2 separate regions of the Homo sapiens genome follow, and region 1 is linked to region 2. The links are contacts of gene promoters, found by promoter capture Hi-C in blood cells and fetal thymus (Javierre and others, 2016). All regions are on one chromosome and are shown on one strand. Each heading gives the region's core, a stretch centred on a gene start or on the middle of the fragment in contact. The rest is flanking DNA. Distances are from core to core; before and after follow the strand shown.

Region 1 (4,907 bases), core at 377-2,876, 3.6 Mb before region 2:
CGGCTCACTGCAAGCTCCGCCTCCCAGGTTCACACCATTCTCCTGCCTCAGCCTCCCCAGCAGCTGGGACTACAGGCGCCCGCCACCACGCCCAGCTAATTTTTTTGTATTTTTAGTAGAGATGAGGTTTCACCGTGTTAGCCAGGATGGTCTCGATCTCCTGACCTCGTGATCCGCCCACCTCGGCCTCCCAAAGTGCTGGGATTACAGGCGTGAGCCACGGCGCCCGGCCTATACATGAGCATTTGTGAAGCTTGTCTAAGATTTGTACATTTGATTGCGTGGATATTTTGCCTTAAAAAGAACTGTAAATGAATAATGTGTGCTGATGTGTTCATGGGTGTAGAGTACTAAGGTCTGCATTAAAAAGATAAGATGGTTTGATGGAAGAACAGGTGGATAGCAATATAGCAAAATGTTAACAATTGGGTCGATATGTGTCCACTGTACAAGTCTTCCCACTTTTCTGTAAGTTTGTAAGTTTTCATAATACAAATTTGGATTTAAAAACACCCCAACATTGCAAGAGTGTCACCAAAGTGTTTGAAAAGCAGGATTCTAGGGGGGGCATTCGCTGACGACTCAGAGAAACCGTCCATGCCACCCACCACCCCTACGCACTCAAAAGAAGCCCTCGCTAGGCAGCCCGGCCCTCCGAGCCCTGGTATCGAGGGGCTCTCCGCCTCTCCCCTGCCGCGGCCGCCTCCTGCTTGCCCGGCCTCAGTCTGTTCTCAGAACATACTCCATCACCTGGTTCCCAGAACTCAGATTGCGCAGTGGTCTCGTCATCATCGGCCAGGACTCACAGTGCCCGCGGCAGAGGCCTCCCTAGACCTCCCTCCCGTCCAGCCTCACCCGCTGCCTACTCTCCTCACGCCCCTGCTCCAGGTCCCCTGGCCCCATTTCGCTCGCCACGTTTTCATAATCCTCTCAGGCTCCGGGCAAGCGGCGCCGCCCGCAATGGGACCTGATCATATAAGGAAAATACTGCGGGCTCATCCGGGGGCTGCAATGGGGACCCGAAAGCGCCCTAGCCTACTACAATCACCGCACCCCAACTGCCGCCCACCTCTCTGCCCTGCCCCCAGTACAGTACCCAAAACCGGTCCGGGTCCAGCTCGGCGGCCCAAGCCTCTGCCCAGCGGACTGCGCACCCGCCCGCCCCAGCCAATCCCGCCGCCGCCGCCGCGCCCCGCCCACAGGACGTTCGGTCCCGCCCCCAGCTGGCGGCCGCGGCCGCCCGCGCGCCAAGTTCCTCAGCCCTTGGCTCCTGCCCAGTGTTTAGGGTGTTGGCGGAGACAAAGGGGAAGAGTCATCGCCTGTCGGGGCTAGGATATGATGGGTGAGAGGTGTCAAACCAAATTCTCTCGGTTTGGAAACGGAGAAAATCTAAAAATGAGGATGTGAGGAAAGAGTCCGCTCTCAAGGCGCGTTGTGGTCTATCCGAGCCCCGTCCCCTGGGCTCCCTCGGGCTGGGGTGAGGCGGGCAGCGCTACGCGTGGGGTAGGACCATCTTACGCTGGGACCCCGCCAAGGAGCCCCAGGAAGTAGGTGAAAGGGCAGGGGCGTGGCTCTCGGGGCGCCACCCACGCTCTTGAAATCTGGGTGATTGCGAGCGGCCGCTCAGCGTCCCCCACACCACAGACCCGCGCCGCCGACGACCCAGCAGCCGCCATGGCTCTGCTCCGAGGTGAGCGCAGCCCCCTCCTCCTCTCCTCGCCCCTCGGGGTCCTGCCCTCCCCAGGCCAGGCCTCCGCTTCCGGCCGCCGCGGAGAGTCGGGGTCGTGGGGTGAAGTTCACTCAACCTCCTCGGTTTTGGAGCGGACGTGATAAAAACCCAGCCCGAAAGGCTTGTTTGGGTTAAGGAGAAAACCCTTACTTGTAAGGCGCTAGCGACAGCGATTTCGGTGCAATTTCCTGTTTAGTTGAGACCAAAGTTTGCTTGCATGTGACCTTGGAGGTCATTCCTTTCTTCGCCTAACAGTGACCCCACTAGTTCGAGTCCAAGTATTAGAAAAAATGGGGCGGCGCCATAGGCCGCGGGCGCCTGCTGCGGGGCAGCTGCGCACAGGAGCCCGCCGCTCGGCCTCGGTGGTCAGGGCTCCCCGGGTGAATCGATGGAGAGGCCTGCAGAAATGGTAGCTGGTGTTCTGCTGGAAGACCTGCCCTGCTCCCATTTCCCTTCTGTTGCTTTAGATTAGAGCGGTCACTCTATACCTAAGTTCTAGGGTTATGAACTTGTTTAAAACAACTGTGTAATAAACTCCCTTTTCAAAACAAGTGGGCACAGTCAATGGAATCTTACTTTAAGGATGTACGAGTCGAAGAACATTGAGGTGGAATACATATCGAGGCCCTGAGACAGGAAAAAGCTTGGCAGGATCTAAGAACCAAGCATTTTGGTGCTCCAGGGCCCTGTGGGCTCTGTAAGAAGGTGGGGTTTTGTTCCAAATTCAGTGGAAGGCAATACAGGGATTTAAAGCGGGGTAATGACAGGATCTGATTTCCACTCTGTCCGAATTTGGGGCGGTCTGTGTAATGGCGAAGAGACCATTTAAGGATCTATTGTAGAGGTCCAGGGAGCAGCAAATGATGGCTTTGACTCGTGTGGGGCAGTGTAATTGGGGAGAAAAGGGGAGGGATGAGTTGAGATAGATTTGGAGGTGGATTTGATAGAAAGTGGATTGGATGTGGTGGAGTAAATATAAGAAGGAAATGTCGAGAATGATGAAAAGTGTCTGGTTTGATGAACCGTGTTCATGATGATGCCACTTTACAGAGTGAGGAAAATTGGGAAAGGAATAGATGTGGAAAGAAGGATTGAGAATTCAGTTTTAGGCAGAAAACTTTTTGGTGCCTGTGAAGCAGCCAAGTGGAGATGCCAGCTAAGCATTGGTTAGGGGGATCTGAAAGTGAGAAGAACCAAAGTGGCATGGGAACAAATCAAGGGAAAAATCCGTATTCTGGGACCAAATGCAGTGTTTACAGTTTCCTGCAACGTGGATTTCATTTGCCAGTGCCCTTCCTGACTGAATTTACTACATTTACTTCATAAAGCAGCGTGGTGAATTTTTTTTAGACGAGGCATTTACACTTCATTTAAAAGGTGCATTGTCATGAGCTATCTTCTAAAAAAGGAAATAATATTTTTACTGATATCATTTTAATATTTTATCAGTGGTTCTTACCCTTTCTTATAATACAGACCTGTTTGAAAATTTCACAAATACTATAAACCCAAAAAGGAAAAAAATGCACATTGACACCTGTATTAAGGAAGTATAAAGTTTATAAATTTCTGGTACAATTTACTGTAGTGTTAGAGCTAGTGATCGTATTTTTTTCCATTTCCTTATTGTAGCAATTAGGAGGACACTCATGTCGAGAGAGGTAAAGTGGTTGTGTATAATAACACAGGTAGTTAGTGGCTGTGACTAGAACCCAAGCTTTGAGCTTGAAATAGTGATGTTACAGGCCAGCTAGAATCATTAAAGATAAACTTCTCTCAAGCAGCATACCAAGTGTTTGCAGGATGGGTGGGAAGAAAGAAGAGCATGTGACTGATTATAGGGAAAAGGACACATTTGAGTTAAATTTTGTTAAGGATTAACATTAATTTGTCAGATTTCAGTCAACAAGAAGAACCGGCTCCTAGGTTTTTATTAGCACCCATCCCAGTACTTGGCAGGAGGTTTTCGCTCGACAGATCATAGCTCTCCTACTGCTCCTAGCTTTGTTGGGAATGTTTGTGTATTTTTTCAAGGCAAGTAGACAGGGCTGCTAAATTACCTTAATCTTGAAACAACTGGATGCCACCGCAGCTTTCCTTAATTTGCCCTCGTTGCTGCCTGAAGTTGCTCTAAGTGAATATTTACCTAACAATGTGATAGAAAGGTAGTGCTCCTGTTTCTTTCCTAGTGGTGCTTTTCCTGTATTGTCAACTCAGCACATCTTTCCAGGGCCTTTCTTGGAGCTACTTGGACTCACTACACTCTGGGTTAATAGGTCTCTTCACTGTCTTTCAGTTTTGGGAAATTTTTAGCCTCTGAATTTTCAGGGTGTTCAAATGAGATTTCAGTTTGGTGTTAAAGATTGTTAAGTTTTAGACCTTTTAGTATCCACGTAAAATTGACATCAAATGAAAATTGACATGGTATACAATTTATGAAATTAAAAAAAAAAAACTTTAAACCTTTATAGTCTATCTGCACATCCCAGATTATTTGTTAAAATGAAGATTTAAAATAATAATAACAAATTATTTTTTAAAATAGAGAAACCCAGTCTCTACAAAAAATACAAAAATTAGCCAAGCATGGTGGCACTCGCCTGTAGTCCCAGCTACTCGGGAGGCTGTGGTGGAGGATTGCTTGAGCCCAGGAGGTTGAGGCTGCAGTGAGCCAAGATCACACTACCGCACTTCAGCCTGGGTGACAGAGTGAAACCCTGCCTCCAAACAAACAAACAAAAAAAACCCAAACCAAAAATATATGATTGAGAACATTTTCTCTGTTCAAAATAATTGTTTTAGTTCAGTTAAGGTCTTACTTGAGCTAACCTTTACAGTCTGGGAGCATCAAATAAGAAGTAATATAGGTAAAGGGGAGGTTTTTTTTTGTTTTTATTTTCCCATGCACACCCTTTCCTTTGTAGATATTGCATATTTCACTACTAGCACTGCCCTATCAAATGCTTTCTTAGAATATGAGACATAGGGGAGAAGTTCATAAAAGGAACTTTGTAGAGAGACAAATGAAATTAGGCTCTATTGTTTCTGAGAAGTGAGGGGTCATTTCCATGTGTGCAATATGTCATTTTTATTTCTGGATGCTTTATATATTTTTGTTATCTTTGGATTTCAAAAGTTTGACAATGATGTGCCAAGCTGCAGGAGAACGGGGTGTGGA
Region 2 (4,463 bases), core at 580-3,079:
ATCCTATTTTCCACAAAAAGTTGTCAGAAAAAATTTTTTTTCCCATTAAGAAATCTGATTCAGTCCAGGCGCCACGGCTCACGCCTGTAATCCCAGCACTTTGGGAAGCCAAGGCGGGCAGATCACGAGGTCAGGAGGTCAAGACCAGCTTGGCCAACGTGGTAAAACCCCGTCTCTACTAAAAATACAAAAATTAGCTGGGCGTGGTGGCGCGTGCCCGTAATCCCAGCTACTCGGGAGGCTGAGGCAGGATAACTGCTTGAACCATGTGTTTTTTTTTTTTTTGTCCTGAGACTCCTCAGGACATCAGGCAGTAACTATCAATTGTAGGCCTCTAAAAATGCTTGTTAAACCAAAAGGCAATGCTCTGATTACTGGAGGAATCTAGATTGCCAAGATCAGCAAAACTACATTAGAAAGTTAATAGCTTCCATCCTTAAAATATCCCAAGAGAAGAAAGGGAGTGATTCTGTTAGCATGTACCCAATACTACACAATAAAAGCCTAAGCAAAATTGGCAGATGTTTTTGTAATTAAGAGGTCCAACCTTGACGAAGTATCATCAGTAGGATTTTAATTCTACTGGGTAAGAGGATTCAGAAAGCAAAAGGTCAGGCAAAAAACGAAAAACCCATCCAAACAGAAACTGCTCAAGGATCTGGTAGGGCTCGTACCGATGTTCTCTACTTCAACCTGTGAGCATCAATTTTGTGATGGGGGCTGCCGGGGACGGGGGTCGGGGCGGGGGGGTGGACAATTTTAAAGTGAGAATGAATGGCTTGCGTAAAGGCGATAGTCTTTAACACGGGTTCGTCAGTGTACATCCTCGCCGGTTTTGAAATAAAGTTGACAAACTCCCCAGAAGCGGTCTATTTTGGAGACTGACACATCTCTCGCATTGACTGGAGGCGCCTGCCGACCGAAGGTAGTGGAAGCGCCGAGAGGCAGGCGGCGCCAAGCCTATAAGAAAGCCTTTTCTCCCTCCACCAAGGCCACTGCGGCCGCGGCGCCGGAGCTCTCCGCTGCAGGGGCAGGTGTCGGCGCCAGACCCCCTACTCTCGGAGCTGGCGGAGTTGCCGCCACTGCTTCCCCCGCGGGCCTAGGAGCCGGAAAGTTGCGTGAAGACAACTCCAGGGCCGTGAAGTCGCTTCCCCCCGCAGCCCGGGGACTGCGGCACCTCCAGCCTCCCCTCAGCACCCCCGGAAAAGGACTCGCCTCAACCCGGCCCCAGCGTCTGGGGGCTTGGAGTGCCGGAGCCAACTCCGCCGGGCCGGGAGGACGCTAGGGTCACCAACGGCGGACGAGCAAGGAGGTCGGAGAGGTGCGATGCCCCAGCGTCAGCCGGCAATCCAGGCTGCGAGTTCCCGGCGCCCACCAGCCAGGCCCGCTAGGACCCCAGCGTCCGGACGCCGCAGAGCCCTCACCGCGGCCCGCAGCCCTCCGATTCGCCCCGACCCCTCCCTGGGACGCAACCCGGGCCCCCCAACTCGACCAGTAGCCAGGCCGCGGCCCTGCGCCCCTTCCCGCCTCACCTGCGCTCCGCGGCGACTCCGTGCCTTCTCGCTCGCTTCGCGCGCGCCCCGTCGGGGCACGCACCGAACCCCCGGCCGGGACTCTTCCCCGCTGCGGTGACTCAGGACGCGACGGCCACCGCCGCCTTCTCCTCCTCGGAACAAGCCCCGGCAGCGAGCAGTGGGTCGCGGTCAGAGCCCCTGCCGGGACCAAAGTGAACCTCGCCGCCTCCGCAGCCTCTACCACCAAGTCCCTTCAGTCGTCCGCGCCGCCCCCAAGAAAATGTCACCAGAGGCCGTTCCGCTGGGCGCCTCACTTCCGCCCGGAAACACAGAGCCCGCGTCGGCCGGCTAGAGAGGCAGCTGCGCCGGAGACCTCTGGAGACTGGCGCCCGAGGCCCGAGAAAAGCCAGACAGCGCCATCTGGCGCGATGGAACCCGCGCTCCTCCCGCTGCAGACCGCGGGGCGTGAAGGCGCCGGCTCCCCGGGCTTCTTTCCCGCGCTCCCTCCTTCTGTTGAGACCGTCACCTTCCCGAAATGTCTTTCCCGGGGGGTGGGAAAGCCACTCAATGCAAGCCAAGGACAATGCCTTCAGCAAAGGACAGCGCTCCCTTTTCTGTGCGCTGCTCAGTACTCACCCCCTCCTGAAGCCCTTCCGAAAGCAGCTTGCGGTGTCTGAATCCCAGAGTCGCTCCAGCGGAGAGCCCGTGCCCTTCTCTCCCCGCTTTTTCGCGGATGCCGATAGCTGGGCTCGGGGAGACTCGGCTGAGCTCTTCTCGGGCAGCGGCACCAATATCTGCTCAAGTTTCTGTCCGGGCACCTTGCAGGCCTTGCAGATCGACCGCCACCTGCTGGTGGGACGTGGCCCGCTGGGGAGACCCCGCTCTGCCCCGAATTCCGCCTCTGCAGTCGCCCTCCGATTTGCAGTCAGCCCTGGGGAGGGTGGGGGAAACGAGGTGGACCCGAACCCCGAAGAAGGGGAGGAGGGCGCAGGCCCACTGGCGGGTGGAGCGTTTCCCAAGGAGGAGCAGGAGATGCTGAAGACATATCTCAAGACTCAAGATCTGGCCAAGGACCCGCGCTCCCCCAAAGCAAAGCAGTGTTTTGAGAAGAAAAATAATAATAATAAAGCTTTGAGGAGGAAAATGTAAACGGTCTTTACCTTTACAGAGCTGTGCTGGAACCTCGGATGAGACCCGTCAAGAGGAGATTCTGAAAATCTCACACCACTGGGTCCGCACTCCCCTAAATATCAGTCTCCCCCTTCAGACCAGGCCCCTTAGTTCCCCCACTTCACTCATTTTTTCTGACTGCCTACAGGAGTGCGAGTTTTTCATCCCCAACTACAAGAATAAATTAAGAAAAGAAAATAATTTTATTATACCAGGCACCTTGCATTTAAATGGGTTAAATCCACTGAATCCTCATTACAACTCATAACAACCCTATGAGTTGGATGGCGTTACTAGTCCCAAATTGCAAAGGTGGAAACTGAGGGACAGAGTGACCTGCCCAAGATGACACATCCAAGTAAGTGGCAGTGTTGGATTCCAACACAGGCAGAGCTTACTTTCTTAACCACAGCCACCAACTGCCTCACTGAGAATCACAGAGAACGTAGTGTGTGCTAGCTAAGTAGTTTATCCGTGTATGTTATTTCACTCGTTCATTCATTTATTTACTTTCTGCTACCTGAGTCCTCAAGGGATTTGAGAGGTTATGGGGTAGTGACAAGAGCCCAGCCTATTTCAGGAAAAAAAGAAAAGAAAAGGAAAAATCACACTAAGATCACAACTTTCAGTCTGGAAATGAATGAATGTGGACTAATACATTGAGTTTTTAAAAGATTCCTTGACAGTCTGATCTAATCAATGCTGCAGAAATACTGAAGTAGGACCCTGACTACTGAGATACCATCTTGGGTCCTTCTCCTGTTTTTTGTTTTTTGTTTTTTGCTTTGTGGTTGTTGTTTCTTTGTTTTTTGTTTGGTTGGTTGGTTTTGGTTTTTTGGTTTTTTTCTTGAGACAGAGTCTTGCTCTGTCGCCCAGGCTGGAGTTCAGTGGCGCGATCTTGACTCACTGCAATCTCTGCCCCCCGAGTTCAAGCGATTCTCCTGCCTCAGCCTCCCGAGTAGCTGGGATTACAGGTGCACGCCACCACACCCAGCTAATTTTTTGGTTTTTTAGTAGAGACGGGGTTTCACCATGTTGGCCAGGCTAGTCTCAAACTCCTGACCTCAGGTTATCCACCCACCTCAGCCTCCCAAAGTGCTGGGATTACAGGTGTAAGCCAGCGCACCCAGCCCCTTCTCCTGTTTAATACCAATAAGTCAATTTCCTACGTCGAATGGCCTTTGTATATTTTTGGAGGCTAGGGCATTTGATATCCTAATTACTAATATTTTTATTACTACTATATTTCCATTATTAAATGGTACAGTTACTTGCTTCTTCCCCTTCTTCTGTAGGAGCAGAAGGGATCCTACTTCTGCCTCAAAGTCTTCTGTGTATCCAATACTTAGCTCTACAAGCTCCTGAAATGCCATCTCTCCCATAAAACCAGCTCAGCCCAGACACAACCCCCGTCACCACTACCCTTATTACCCCCTCCATCCTGGCCTTCCACTGTGGGTCAGGACTCCCCTGCTCACACACACTCTCCTACAAACATGTCTGCCCTTGGTCTATCTGTAGGGTTACTACTAAACCATATTCGTCATCCTCTCAACTTCTGTCATAGCCCTAGAGGCCAGAGCCAAGCCTGTCAGAATCACTCTTCACCATCATTTTTTGCACCTGATATACCGCCTAGCCTGGGGCTAAGCCTGCAGCAGGTACCTGCCAGCTGTGGTGGCCTGGACAGTAGCATCAGGGCGTGGCTGGTCTGGCTTTGACTGTAACCTGATCTCTCCTGACTGAGCAGGTTACTTCTACCATTTGCCCTGTAAAATG

What was found. The method cuts DNA at HindIII sites, captures the fragments that hold promoters and counts their contacts. A CHiCAGO score of 5 or more calls a contact.
Region 1: a contact is called between the fragment with the promoter of ACAA2 here and the fragment with the promoter of ARK2N in region 2, in 1 of 17 cell types (naive CD8 T cells). The highest score is 5.1, in naive CD8 T cells.

What each region holds. Positions count from the first base shown.
Region 1 is chr18:49,810,252-49,815,158 of GRCh38, reverse strand. It overlaps ACAA2 (acetyl-CoA acyltransferase 2), which reads left to right and starts at 1,626. Exons shown (of 10, transcript NM_006111.3): 1 at 1,626-1,690. The coding sequence starts at 1,675. SNHG22 (small nucleolar RNA host gene 22) reads right to left here and starts at 1,136. Exons shown (of 4, transcript NR_117096.1): 1 at 1,097-1,136. It also overlaps SCARNA17. RefSeq lists silencers at 1,114-1,283, 1,526-1,820, 1,714-1,833. The HindIII fragment of the contact is 2,119 bases long and covers 256-2,374 here.
Region 2 is chr18:46,171,400-46,175,862 of GRCh38, reverse strand. It overlaps ARK2N (arkadia (RNF111) N-terminal like PKA signaling regulator 2N), which reads right to left and starts at 1,829. Exons shown (of 5, transcript NM_145055.5): 1 at 1,533-1,829. RefSeq lists enhancers at 816-945, 1,546-1,595, 1,626-1,885, 2,206-2,255. The HindIII fragment of the contact is 7,725 bases long and covers 1-2,645 here.